4 separate regions of the Homo sapiens genome follow, and all the other regions are linked to region 1. The links are contacts of gene promoters, found by promoter capture Hi-C in blood cells and fetal thymus (Javierre and others, 2016). All regions are on one chromosome and are shown on one strand. Each heading gives the region's core, a stretch centred on a gene start or on the middle of the fragment in contact. The rest is flanking DNA. Distances are from core to core; before and after follow the strand shown.

The links. The method cuts DNA at HindIII sites, captures the fragments that hold promoters and counts their contacts. A CHiCAGO score of 5 or more calls a contact.
Region 2: a fragment that was not itself captured here is called in contact with the fragment with the promoter of TAF7 in region 1 in 2 of 17 cell types (M1 macrophages and M0 macrophages); the score reaches 8.8 in M1 macrophages.
Region 3: a fragment that was not itself captured here is called in contact with the fragment with the promoter of TAF7 in region 1 in 4 of 17 cell types (M1 macrophages, M2 macrophages, M0 macrophages and 1 more); the score reaches 12.7 in M1 macrophages.
Region 4: a contact is called between a fragment that was not itself captured here and the fragment with the promoter of TAF7 in region 1, in 4 of 17 cell types (M2 macrophages, M1 macrophages, megakaryocytes and 1 more). The highest score is 12.0, in M2 macrophages.

Annotation. Positions count from the first base shown.
Region 1 is chr5:141,319,103-141,322,619 of GRCh38, reverse strand. It overlaps TAF7 (TATA-box binding protein associated factor 7), which reads left to right and starts at 1,836. Exons shown (of 1, transcript NM_005642.3): 1 at 1,836-3,517. The coding sequence starts at 2,576. RefSeq lists enhancers at 1,308-1,457, 1,468-1,527, 2,108-2,307. The HindIII fragment of the contact is 5,333 bases long and covers 1-2,804 here.
Region 2 is chr5:140,735,367-140,738,883 of GRCh38, reverse strand. The region is part of intron 3 of LOC105378198 (a long non-coding RNA gene); the gene reads right to left. Among named protein-coding and RNA genes, the nearest start is that of ZMAT2, 37 kb to the right of the region's middle. The HindIII fragment of the contact is 5,793 bases long and covers 1-3,517 here.
Region 3 is chr5:140,752,941-140,756,457 of GRCh38, reverse strand. All of the region lies in intron 3 of LOC105378198 (a long non-coding RNA gene), which reads right to left. Among named protein-coding and RNA genes, the nearest start is that of PCDHA1, 31 kb to the left of the region's middle. The HindIII fragment of the contact is 5,694 bases long and covers 1-3,517 here.
Region 4 is chr5:140,773,020-140,776,536 of GRCh38, reverse strand. No RefSeq gene overlaps it. Among named protein-coding and RNA genes, the nearest start is that of PCDHA1, 11 kb to the left of the region's middle. The HindIII fragment of the contact is 5,471 bases long and covers 1-3,517 here.

The DNA of each region.
Region 1 (3,517 bases), core at 587-3,086:
GGCGAGGTGGCTCAAGCCTGTAACAGAAAAAACTTCATCTTTGAAAAAGAGGAAATAGATCATTCTGGAAATTACAAGTAAGTCAGCTAACATTCTTCAACACATTATAAGCAAAGAGAAATAATTTACCGTTATCTGGAAGGGCATACTTTCTCTTTTAAAATTAACATTAAAAACCAAACTAACGTCAGGTCATTTTAATTTCCTCCCACAACAGTATCTCATTCTAGCTAAACCACATTCACACACACTATTAGTAAACCTCCCCACCTCATAACAATTAGAATTGTCCTTGACTAGAAAGGAAATGTATGTAAAGTGGCTCTATCTCATTTTAAAATGACAAAGAATGTATTTTCTCTCAGAAATCACTACAGGATTTGAGACTATGATCTTTCTAGACAGATAAGTTTTTTCATTCAATTAGCAAATATTTTTTGTGTATCTCCCACATTCTGGTACTAGGCACTGGGACACAATGACCAGGATAGAAGAAGATCACTATCATGGAGCTTTCAATCATACAAGAATAAAGTGAATTTTGGAAATGTTAATTACATCTTAAGAGAATTCTCTTAAATTTAGGGGCAATTGTTAATATTTTAGAGGATAGAAATGAAATATTAATGGCCTTGATGCTCTCCCAGATATTTTAAAAATAAATGGAAATAAATAGAAATAAGTACCAACTGTTACCCAGTTATGTTAAAATACTAAAAATATGTGTTGATGAATACCTGACTATTGATAGAAAAGACAAGCAGAAAACAGCAAAATAGTAGAGGTGGAGTTAAAAAAAATGTCAAAGTAATTTAAAATTACTTGTACATGAGAGACAGGAAACAATACTTCAATTATATCTACTTTAACCAGATGCTCAGTCTATCAGACAATTCTGTCCAAAAGAACACTTCCTTCTCTGTTTACATTTACATCTAAATCAAGCACATAAAAAGGAATCACCCTTGTTTCCCCAGAAGTATTATAGAACACAAGTAAAACCAGAGGCACAATTCCCCTACAGGGAATTATATTTAAAAATACAGACTTTGGGCCATGCGCGCTGGCTCACACCTATAATCCTAGTACTTTGGGAGGCCAAGACAGGCAGATCACCTCAGGTCAGGAGTTCGAGACCAGCCTGGCCAACATGGTGAAACCCCTTCTCTACTAAAAATACAAAACTTAGGTGGGGTAGTGGAACGTGCCTGTAATCCCAACTACTTAAGAGGCTGAAGCAGGAGAATCGCTTGAACCCCAGAGGTGGAGGTTGCAGTCAGCCAATATTGTGCCACTGCACTCTAGCCTGGGTGACAGCCTGAGACTCCATCTCCAAAACAAACAAACAAACATATATATAGAGAGAGACTTATATAGTAAGCTGCATGTCCTCCTCACTCCATTGATTTGGGTACTTTGAAATCCATTGTATAGTAGCTACACATTCTTGTATTGGCACCAGATAGGCTAGACTCTAGGGAACATCCGAGATGTTTCCAGAAGCAAAGACGCTTACTGCAAGGCGTCCCCCATCTCCCGGAATCACCCGGAAGTCTAGAAGCCATCCGGCCCCACAGCGATCCCGTAAAAGTGCTGGCTTAGCGGGGGACGAATCTGTGTCTTTCTTGGAACTTCCAAGCTCTAAATAGTTTGAAACCAACAGCTCTTCCGAAACACTGTCATTTCCATCCCGGAAAAACAAGTTCTCGCGAAAAGATGAGTTTCACGCTGGGCAGCGTAATTGCGCTATTGCGCCTGCGCTAGCTGGGGCTCCGCCCTTCCGCCCGGAGGGGCTGTCACTCACAGCCGCCTCCCGCCCCGCGTCGCGACGTAGCACTTCCGTTTTTGCTGGGTAGGCGACCCGGACGGAGGGCCGGCGAGGTGCGGGGTCTGGTGATGCGAGCTGCGCCTCTCGGCAAGATTTCGCGCTGCCCATCCCGGGCCCTTTCATCAGTAATCGGTAGTGGATCACTCTGCCAAGCGGCAGGAAGAATTAAGGAAACGACAAGGAGACGCTCGGCTCTCTCCCGCTTGGCTCCTTGCGGCCTCCTCTTCCCTTCGCTCCGGCCCGGTGAAACTGAACTTATAATCGTCACTGGATTGTAAGTACCCGAGGCGAAGAGAGCTCGCTGAGCCCTGATTTTTTGAGTGTCTTTGTTCCGGGAGAGTTTGTGAGTTGAAAGTATCTCTGCTGGGCTTTCTGGGCCGAAAACCGTTCCGGGGGAGCCGCCATTTGCTTTCCTGTTCCCTAGCTAGCTAGCTAGCTCTCTCCGCGTTGTCCGGCAGCGGCACCTAGAGGTTGGGACTTGGCATTGCATCTGATTTAATGAACTTAAGTCTGTGAATAAGCCTTTGTGTTAACGACTGGTATTCGGTCACAGCATATTTAGAGAAAAGACTTGGAGCTTAAATAAAAACTAAGGCAAAATAGACGCTTAGCTGCTGATCTACAGAGAACTTCTTGTAATTAAAAGATTTCAATTCATAGCAAACTGGTGTTTTAAACTATTGCAGTAGCTGGAACTTTTTAGTGTAACCAGCATTTATTGGAGAAGTGAATCACAAGGAAATAAAGATGAGTAAAAGCAAAGATGATGCTCCTCACGAACTGGAGAGCCAGTTTATCTTACGTCTGCCTCCAGAATATGCCTCTACTGTGAGAAGGGCAGTACAGTCTGGTCATGTCAACCTCAAGGACAGACTGACAATTGAGTTACATCCTGATGGGCGTCATGGAATCGTCAGAGTGGACCGTGTTCCATTGGCCTCAAAATTAGTAGACCTGCCCTGTGTTATGGAAAGCTTGAAAACCATTGATAAAAAAACTTTTTACAAGACAGCTGATATCTGTCAGATGCTTGTATCCACAGTTGATGGTGATCTCTATCCTCCTGTGGAGGAGCCAGTTGCTAGCACTGATCCTAAAGCAAGCAAGAAAAAGGATAAGGACAAAGAGAAAAAGTTTATCTGGAACCACGGAATTACTCTGCCTCTAAAGAATGTCAGGAAGAGAAGGTTCCGGAAGACAGCAAAGAAGAAATATATTGAATCTCCAGATGTTGAAAAAGAAGTGAAACGATTGCTGAGTACAGATGCTGAAGCTGTTAGTACTCGGTGGGAAATAATTGCCGAAGATGAAACAAAGGAGGCAGAAAATCAAGGCCTGGATATCTCTTCTCCAGGAATGTCTGGTCACAGGCAGGGCCATGACTCATTAGAACATGATGAGCTTCGGGAGATATTCAATGACCTCAGCAGCAGCAGTGAGGATGAAGATGAGACCCAGCATCAAGATGAAGAAGATATAAACATCATTGACACGGAGGAAGATCTGGAGAGACAGCTACAGGACAAGCTAAATGAATCAGATGAACAGCACCAGGAAAATGAAGGAACCAATCAGCTGGTTATGGGAATTCAGAAGCAGATTGACAACATGAAAGGCAAGCTCCAAGAGACCCAGGACAGGGCAAAACGACAAGAGGATCTCATCATGAAAGTGGAAAATCTGGCTCTC
Region 2 (3,517 bases), core at 682-3,181, 580 kb after region 1:
TGGCCCACACCTGTAAGCCCAGCTACCAGGGAGGCTGAGGCAGGAGAATTGCTTGAACCCTCCAGGCGGAGGTTTCAGTGAACCAAGATCACACCACTGCACTCCAGCCTGGGCAACAGAGTAAGACTTTGTCTCAAAAAAGAAAAAAAAAAGTTAATTATTCTGCAGAACTTGGAGGTGATCCCAATGGTACCTCTGAGAAGCCACCCTGTCATTCTAAAAAGGATGAATACGATTAAGAAACATGTTCACCAGCCTGGGCAACATGGTGAAACTTTGTCTCTACTGATACAAAAATTAGCCGGGAGTGGTGGTGTGCACCTGTAATCCCACGAAACTGAGGCATGAGAATCACTTGAACCTGGGAGACAGAGGTTGCAGTGAGCTGAGATCGCACCACTGTACTCCAGCCTGGGCAGCAGAGTGAGACTCTGTCTCAAAAAAAAAAAAAAAGAGAGAGAGAGAGAAAGAAAGAAATATATTCAGAGGAATCCTATGAAGAAATAGAAAGTAAAACATCTAGTATTTCATCATTAATAGGTAATCATAGAGAAGAATAAAAAGAAGAATAAGGAAGGATATGAGGAGAATTGTTACTAAAGGAAATCTATGTTGTATTTTACTAATTGTTCATTTTGGGGCTTTTTTATTTTTATTTTTTTGTAGAGACGAGGTCTCACTATGTCACCCAAGATGGTCTCAAACTTCTGGCCTCAAGTGATCCTCCTACCTCGGCCTCCCAAAATGCTGGGATTATAGGTGTGAGCCACTGCACCTGGCCTCCTGTTCATTTGGATTTTCACTTCTCTGTTTTATTCTTCGTGCCTTCATCTTACTTTAATATTTTCTAAAATTCTATTTTGAGTTAATACTATGTTTTTTAGTGCATCTCTTTGTATAACATGTTAGCGGTTGCTCTGTCCACAACTTATCAAAGTCTATTCATTTTTTTCCGTCTAATTTCTCTCTGTTGTTTAGGTTGGATAATTTTTATTATTCTATCTTCTAGTTCACTTGTTATTTTTTCTGCCTCCTCCATTATGCTGCTGAACCCACCCACCCCATCCACTGAGGTTTTTATTTCAGTTATTATATTTTTCAGTTCTAAAATTTCCATTTAGTTCTTCTTTTATCATCTATTTCTTTGCTTATGCATTCTATTTTTCATTTATTCCAAGAATGTTTATAATTGCTTATTGAAGCATTTTTACAATGGCTAATTTAAAATTTCTGTCAGATAATTCTAATATCTCTGTCATCACAATGTTGGCATCTGTTGATTGTCATTTTTTCATTCTGTTTGAGATCTTCTGGTATGATAAGTAACTTTTCATTAAAACCTGGATATGTTCATATTATATTCCGCTACTCTGGATCCTATTTAAACCTTCTGTTTTAGTGGGATTTCTCTGATACCATTTAGGCAGAAGGGGGAACAGAGAAAGAAGGAGATGTCACCTAATTACTGCCAGGTGCAGGCAGAAGTCCAGGTTCCCCACAGAGCCTCCATTGCCACCTGAAGAAGGGAGCTCATTGTTACTGCTGGGTAAGCATGGAAGTTCTGGCTCCCCTGACACCACAGTGAGGATGGCCACATTACCACTGGGTAGAGGTCTAAGTCCAGTCTTCTCATATAATCCCCCCTGCTGGGAAGGGAAGTATTAACAAAAGATCATGAGATTTGAGGAAGAAGAAAAAAGAGAGTTTTATTTCCTATAAATGGTTACAATCTGCAGGTTGGGAAATGAAACATCCAGCCAAAATGAAAAGCATCTGCTTCAGAGACAAAAGGGAGAAGCTGGGACTTATGCCCAACAAGATGAGCTATATGTACATATTCAGTAGCTTATAGGAGAATCTATGAATATTTGAGAAAACCCTAATGCATGCAAAGAGAATAAACATATATGTTACATATGTTCCATGTTCATTTTGGGGTGGGGATTTAATAGTAAAGTGAAGTGGCACGTGGCTGTTTATATATAACAAGGTGAAACAGAACACAAAGGCATCTTGTGCACAGCCTCTGTGGACTAGGTGCAATCAGTCTGTGGTCGGTGGTCAGTATAACAATGGAATGTTTAATAAGGCTGGTCAGTAGTCATGGTGAAACCACGATAAAAGAGGGGAGGTCAGCCATGACATCAAGAGGTCTCTTGAGGTTGAGGGAGAAATCTTCCAGACAGTTTTTTAGGAACTCGTTTCTGTTTAATTGTAGGAAGGAAAGTTTTGAGGCAGTTAACAAGGTAGGGGAGTGTTGAGGTGTGACTGACCTCTTGCCTTGCCAAAGCCATAGAATGCAGTTTTCAAAGTTTCTGGGGTCTCTTTTGCAACAAGAAGTCCATTCTGTTTCACCTAGGGGCTTAGGGACTTTAGTTTTATTTCACACTTTCCAGCTTTAGGCTGAAATCTGCCATAGGCAGCATTGATGGCTAAATTTTCTAACATGTCCCATGTCGTTCCCAGGATGGTGTGGATACCTGCCCCAGGTCTATCTAGTCTGTCAGTGGGACTCATGTGGCTAGGAGACTTACAACCAGTTGAATATTTTAGGCCAGGCAAGAAGGAGGCAGACAGCTATTAAGACCCTTTGAACCTTTGAGACTAGAAAAACAGTAACAACAGAAAAGTTGAGAAGGTAAGTTTATGTTTATGTTGTCTGTCATTTCTATGCATTGTGCTACCATAACTTTGGTTTTAGTGACAGACTTGAAGTAGTTGGTTATAGATCTTATAAGTACTTTGACTATCAAAAATAGGAACAAGATAGTGATATGATAATGACAAGGGTTTGTAAGATGGATTGGAAGTAATTTCTAATACTGCAATGAGTCAGCTAAAAACGTTATTAAGGGGATCTGTGGTTTGTACCTCCTGTAACCAGGCAGCCTGTTGGGTGATCTTACCTACATGGGTTGTTAAATCTCCTATAATGTTGATATAAGTGCAACAAGTGGTGTGGGCTATCATGCAAATTCCCCCTTGTTTAGCAATGAGAAAACCTGGTGCAATTTGATTGTCTAAAACCACTTGAGCGAGAGAATTTAAGGACTTCTACTGTGTCATAATACTTATTGCAGCATTTTCAGCAATTTGTCCTATGGTGGCCGGCATTTTTTTTTATCGTATCTCTGTTAGTGTATACTCCGTAGCTGAGAAAAATTACACCCCAAAAACTATGCTACCACATATCCTGATATCCACTTGGTAGCTCTCTTTTAGCTTACCGGAAAGCAAGATTTTCTTTATGATTGAGATGGATGGAAAAGAGGGCAACGTAATGACCTAGAAGGCAAAGTCCTTCAACTTGCCAGCTGTTTATGCATCTGTGTGCCTCTTCTTGAACTGGGGGATCTGACTCAATTCTATATAGGAAAGTGTGTCCTCAAGGGGCACAAGTTATACCTCCAAGGGTATGCCAATTTATACGTTCATTTATGAACAAGATATCTATTATGTGAGTGAACCACGAACTGGTTTTGTTGCAAGCCTTCTAGAAGCCTGCAGAGGCATGATA
Region 3 (3,517 bases), core at 404-2,903, 570 kb after region 1:
TTCCTTAGGGCATTTGCTGTAGTTTTTCCCTCTGCCTTAAATGTTTTACCCCAAGAAAACAGCTTGGCTAACTCCCTCACATCCTTCAAGTTAGATATAATTTCTTAATGAAGTCTATCCTGATTATTCTATATAGCTCTTTAATATTGTGACATTCATCCCATCTCTCACAGATTTCTGATTCTCTTAATCTGTTCTACTCTTTCATTATGCCAAAGCACATTTTATCTTCACCTTAATGAATATAATTTCATGCCACTGCACTTCAGCCTGGGCGACAGAGCAAGACTCTGTCTCAAAAAAAAAAAAAAAAAAGAATTTCCATGCAAATGGAGACTGTAAGAGAGCAAGAATAGCTGTACTTACATCAGATAAAATAAACTTTAAGTCAAAAACTCTAAAAAGAGACAATGAAAGTCATTATATAATAATAAAAGTTCAATTCAGCAAGAGGATATAACAATTGTAAATACAAAAGCATCCAATATTGGAACACCTAAATATATAAAGCGAATATTAATAGATCTAAAGGGAGAACAAGACTGCAATACAATGATATTAGGGGGATTTGCTATCCATTTTCAGCAATGGACAGGTCATCCAGACAGAAAATCAACAAAGAAACTTCAGATTTAAACTGCACTGTAGACCAAATGGACCTAGCAGACATTTACAGAACATTCCATCCAACAGCTGCAGAATACACATTCTTCTCAACTGTACATAAAATATTTAACAGAATAGATAATATGTTAGGCCACAAAACAAGCCTTGACAAATTTTAGATTGAAATCATATCAATTGTCTCTTCTGACCACAATGATATAAAACTAAAAATCAATAACAGAAGGAACTTCAGAAACTTTATACATTCATAGAGAGTAAATATGCTCCTGAAAAACCAATGAGTCAATGAAGAAATTAAAAGACATTTAAATATCCCTTTTGGACAAATAGAAATGGAAACACAATGCACCAAAACTTATGGGATACAGCAAAAGCAGTTCTCAGAGAAAAGTTTATAGCTATAAACACCTACATTCAAAAAGAAGAAAGGTTTCAAATAAAGAATCCAACATTATACCTCAAGGAACTGGAAATACAAGAACAAACTAAATCTAAAATTAGGAGAAGGAAGTAATAAAGGTCATAATTTAGGTGAGATGAGGTGGCTCACGCCTGTAATCCCAGCACTTTGGGAGGCTGAGGTATATGGATGACTTGAGCACAGGAGTTCAAGACCAGCCTGGGCAACATGGTGAAACACCATCTCTTCCAAAAATGAAAAAAAAAAATAGCCAGGCGTGGTGGCAGGTGCCTGTGGTTTCAGCTGCTCAAGAGGCTGAGGTGGGAGGAACTCTTGAGCCTGGGTAGTAGACGTTGCAGTGAGCCAACATCACACCACTGCATTCCAGCCTGGGTGACAGAGTGAGGCCTCGTCTAAAAAATATCAGCATATAAATAAATGAAATAGAGGCTTGAAAAAAATACAAAAGAGCAACAAAATTAAGAGTTGGTGTTTTGAGAAAAAATAAAACCAGCCAACAGTTAGCTAAACTACCTAAGGAAAATAGAGAGAAGACAAACAAAACAATAATGAAAAAGGAGACATTATAACTGATACCACAGAAATAAAAAGGATCATAAGACATTATTATACAATTTTACACCAACAAATGGAATAACCTAGAAGAAACAGATAAATTCCTGGACACATACAACCTACTAAGATTGAATTATGAAGTTATAAAAAAATTTCAAGAGACCAATAATGAGTAAGGACATCGAATCAGTAATAAAAAGTCTCCCATCAAAGAAAAGCCCAATACCTGGTAGTTTCACTACTGAATTCTACCAACATTTAAAGAAGAATAAAAACCGGGCGCGGCGGCTCATGCCTGTAATCCCAGCACTTTGGGAGTCCAAGGCGGGTGGATCACGAGGTCAGGAAATCGAGACCATCCTGGCTAACACGGTGAGATCCCGTCTCTACTAAAAATACAAAAAATTAGCCGGGCGTGATGGCGGGCGCCTGTAGTCCCCGCTACTCGGGAGGCTGAGGCAGGAGAACGGCGTGAACCTGGGAGGCTGAGCTTGCAGTGAGCCGAGATCGCACCACTGCACTCCAGCCTGGGAGATAGTGCAAGACTCTGTCCCAAAAAAAAAAAAAAAAAAAAAGAAGAAGAATACCAATTATTCTCAAAATATTTCAAAATACTAAAGAGGAGAGAATACATTCAAACTCATTCTGCGAGGCCAGCATTACTCCGATATCAAACCTGAAAAAAAGCCCCCAATTACTCCAGGGGAAGGAGCAAGTTGAACTGGAAAGGAGCAACCTGCCCTCACCACATGCCTCTGGAATCTGGGCAGGAGGAGACCCCTCAACCACCATGGACACTTGAGTTGGCAGGGAGAGCTGCTTAGAGAAGTGGTAGGGGAAGCACTCCAGCTGGTGCAGAGCCCAGAGGGTTTGTTGTGGTAATGTCTGTAGTGAAGCATAATCAGGGATGCCCATCCCCCTAGGCTTGATTTGCTCCCATAAGAGACTTTAGCCCTAGGGGAACTGTTGGACATGAGCTCTCAGGGCAGTCTTGCCCACCAAATGAGGCCAGTCTGACGTGAGCACCCCTTTGCCTGCTGACCTCTCGCAGGGCCCCAGCCTGGCTGCACCTGCTTGCAATGCAGCCTCGAGTGCCCTCGGGGGGCTGCATCATAGCTCCTGCGCTGGCAGACTGCACCAGCCCACCCACTCCCTCCCCTCACTCCAGGCCCACAACCACCCCTATATTGCTGGAGTATATGTGCATGGGTGGATTTTACCTTCCCTGTCCTACCAGCATGTGTGTGCCCATGAACCCTCTGCTGCCACTGCTGCTGGGGTAAGTGCAGTCCACTCCACCACCTCCCCCATCATACTTCCACTGTAGTCAGAGTGCAGCCCAGCCACCACCAGCACCCTGCCCCAGCACCAACATTGTCACCAGAGTGAAACTAGGCAGAGAAGAGTGGACCCTCCACTGCCCTAAGTGACCACCTCCACCTACATGAAAACACACAGAAGGTGCACACAGTCCTGCACCTGCCAGCACCTTGCCCCCATGCTAACACCACCACCAGCAAACCACACACGCAGTCAGTCACCAGCAGGGACCCCAACCCCTGAGCCATGCTGTCTCTGCCACTGTTATGAATGCCCGAACACCCATGAGCACCAGGCTACAGCCAATAAGCATGTACCCTGCCATGCTGCTTCTGGCACATGCAAATGAGGATGGACCCCGCTGCCACTGCCTTATGAAATGCTTTGACTGTCACCACCTGTAGGAATGCTGAAACCAAAGATGCAGGAGCACCTCAGTCTACCCAGTGCAGTGAGTTCCTAACCTCAAGGAGCCAGAAAACAAAGTTGGGGTCCAGTATTGGTCCCCTAGAGTTAGAGCACGTAGTCCAGGAGTTGTGAGCTGAGCCTTGGCCCCCTGAAATCTTCCAGAGACAAAGCCGGTCAACTGAACCC
Region 4 (3,517 bases), core at 626-3,125, 550 kb after region 1:
TGGGAAACCGTGCTTTTTCCACAGATCTGCGCAACCCACAGATCGGAAGATTCCACTCGTGAGCCCATACTACCAGGGCCTTGGGTCCCAACCACAGAGCTGCACAGACTCTCAACAGCCACTCTTGCTGGAATCTGCCTAAAGGTAATGAGTTCCCGGAGGAGAAGCCGCCATCATCACTGCAGCTGCCTGCTGTCTAAGCCATCTGAGCTTCCAGGGGGAGAGATGGCAGCCATCACTGCGGCTGTCAGCTGCCTAAGACAACTGAGCTCCCTGAGGTGGGGGCGGCCCTCATCACTGTGGTTGCTAGCTGCCTAAGAAAACTGAGCTCCCTGCGGGAGGGAAGGCAAACATTACTCCAGCTGCTAGCTAAGTACACTGCTACCTGACACTGAACTGGGGGTAGCGGGGAGGGTGGCAGCCATCACTATAGCTCTAGACCACATTTTTCCCCTCCTGGAGCCGGAGAGACAGGACAGCTTGGTTCCAAGAGGTAATCCCCACAGTGCAGTATACAGGCTGTGGCTGAAAAATGCTGAAAACTCAAAAGGCCAGAGTGCCTCTTCTCCAAATGATCACAACACTTCTCCAGCAAGTGCACAGAACTGGACAGAGGTACCATCCTGATACCAAAACCTGGCAGAGATACAACAAAAAAGGAAAACTTCAGGCCAGTATCCCTGATGAACACTGATGCAAAAATCCTCAATAAAATACTGTCAAACTGAATCCAGCAGCACATCAAAAAGTTTATCCACCATGATCAAGTCTGCTTCATCCCTGGGATGCAAGGCTGGTTCAACATACGCAAATTAATAAACATAATTCATCACATAAACGGAACTAATGACAAAAACCACAAGATTATCTCAAAAGATGCCGAAAAAGCCTTTGATAAAATTCAACATCCTTTCATGTTAAAAACAATCAATAAACTAGGTATTGATGGAACATATCTCAAAATAGTAAGAGCCATTTACGACAAACCCATAGCCAATATCATACAGAATGGGCAAAACCCAGAAGCACTTCCCTTGAAAAGCAGCACAAGACAAAGATGCCCTCTCTCACCACTCCTATTCAACATAGTATTGGAAGTTCTGGCCAGGGCAATCAGGCAAGAGAAAGAAATAACGGGTATTCAAATAGGAAAAGAGGAAGTCAAATTGCCTCTGTTTGCAGACAACATGATCCTATATCTAGAAAAACCCATTGTCTCAGCCCAAAAGCTCCTTAAGCTGATAAGCAACTTCAGCAAAGTCTCAGGACACAAAATCAATGTGCAAAAATCACAAGCATTCCTGTACACCAACAATAGACAAGCAGAGAGCCAAATCATGAATGAACTCCCATTCACAATTGCTACAAAGAGAATAAAATACCTAGGAATACAGCTAACAAAAGATGTGAAGGACCTCGTCAAGGAGAACTACAAACCACTGCTCAAGGAAATAAGATAGGACACAACAAATGGAAAAACATTCCATCCTCATGAATAGGAATAATCAATATCATGAAAATGGCCACACCGCCCAAAGTAATTTATAGAGTCAATGTTATTTCCATCAAACTACCATTGACATTCTTCACAGAATTAGAAAAAATGACTTTAAAATTCGTATGGAACAAAAAAAGAGCCCATATAGCCAAGACAATTCTAAGCAAAAAGAACAAAGCTGGAGGCATCACGCTACCTGACTTCAAACTATACTACAAGGCTACAGTAACCAAAACAGCATGGTACTGGTACCAAAACAGACACATAGACCAATGGAACAGAATAGAGATCTCAGAAATAAGACCACACATTTACAACCATCTGACCTTTAACAAACTTGACAAAAACAAGCAATTGGAAAAGAATTCCCTACTTAATTAATAGTGCTGGGAAAACTGGCTGGTCATATGCAGAAAATTGAAACTGGACCCCTTCCTTACACCTTATATAAAAATTAACTCAATATGGATTAAAGACTTAAATATAAAACCCAAAACCATAAAAACCCTAGAAGAAAATATAAGCAACACCATTCAGGACATAGGCATGAGCAAAGATTTTATGATGAAATCACCAAAAGCAATTGCAACAGAAGCAAAAATTGATAAATGAGGTCTAGTTAAACTAAATACCTTCTGCACAGCAAAAGAAACTATCATCAGAGTGAACAGGCAACCTATAAAATGGGAGAAAATTTTTGCAATCTACCCATCTGACAAAGGTCTAATATCCAGAATTTACAAGGAACTTAAACAAATTTACAAGGAAAAAATACAAACAACCCCATCAAAAAGTGGGCAAAGGACATGAACAGACACTTCTCAAAAGAAGACATTTATGCAGCCAACAAACATGTGAAAAAAAGCTCAACATCACTGATCACTAGAGAAATGCAAATCAAAACCACAGTGATATACCATCTCACACCAGTCAGAATGGTGATTATTAAAAAGTCAAGAAACAATAGATGCTGGTGAGGTTGTGGAGAAATAGGAATGTTTTTATGTTGTTGGTGAGAATGTAAATTAATTCAACCATTTTGGAAAACAGTGTGGCAATTCCTCAAAGATCTAGAACCAGAAATACCATTTGACCCAGCAATCCCATTACTGAGTATATACTCAAAGGAATGTAAATCATTCTATTATAAGGATACAAGCACACGTATGTTTATTGCAGCACTATTCACAATAGCAAAGACATGGAATCAACCCAAATGCCCATCAATGATAGACTGGATAAAGGAAATGTAGTACATATACACCATGGAATACTATGCAGCCATAAAAAAGACTGAGGTCATGTCCCTTGCAGGGACATGGATGAAGCTGGAGGCCATCATCCTCAGCAAACTAACACAGGAACAGAAAACCAAACACCACTTGTTCTCACTCATAAGTGGGAGCTGAACAATGAGAACACATGGGCACAGGGAGGGGAACAACACATACCTGGGCCTGTCATGGGAGTGGGGGAGGAAGAGCATCAGGAAAAATAGCTAATGCATGTGGGGCTTAATACCTAGGTGATAGGTGCAGCAAACCACCATGGCACACATTTTCCTATATAACAAACCTGCACATTCTGCACATGTATCGTGGAGCTTAAAATAAAACAAAATAAAATAAATTTTAAAAGTGTCTTGAACTTGATGGAGATTTTGTTGAGAAATAAAATTGATAATTTTTATTTTGATCTTTTAATTCTATTTTCCATGAACTTTTGGAAGTCCCCACATAGGAAAGTAATCCATCTAAGTAGAAGGAATATTTCTCAATGTATGCTATGAAGACAGTATCACCCTGATGCCAAAACCAAAGACAATACAAAAATAAAAAGAAAACACAGAGTGATAACTTTTATAAATTTAGATTTCAACAATTTTTAAAATACTAGCAAATAAAATTTTACAATGAGTAAAAAGAATTATACACCATGATCAAGTGGGCTTTTTTCATATATTCAATATTTGAAAATCTGTCATTATAATCTACCATATTAAAGGGCTAAAGAAGAAAA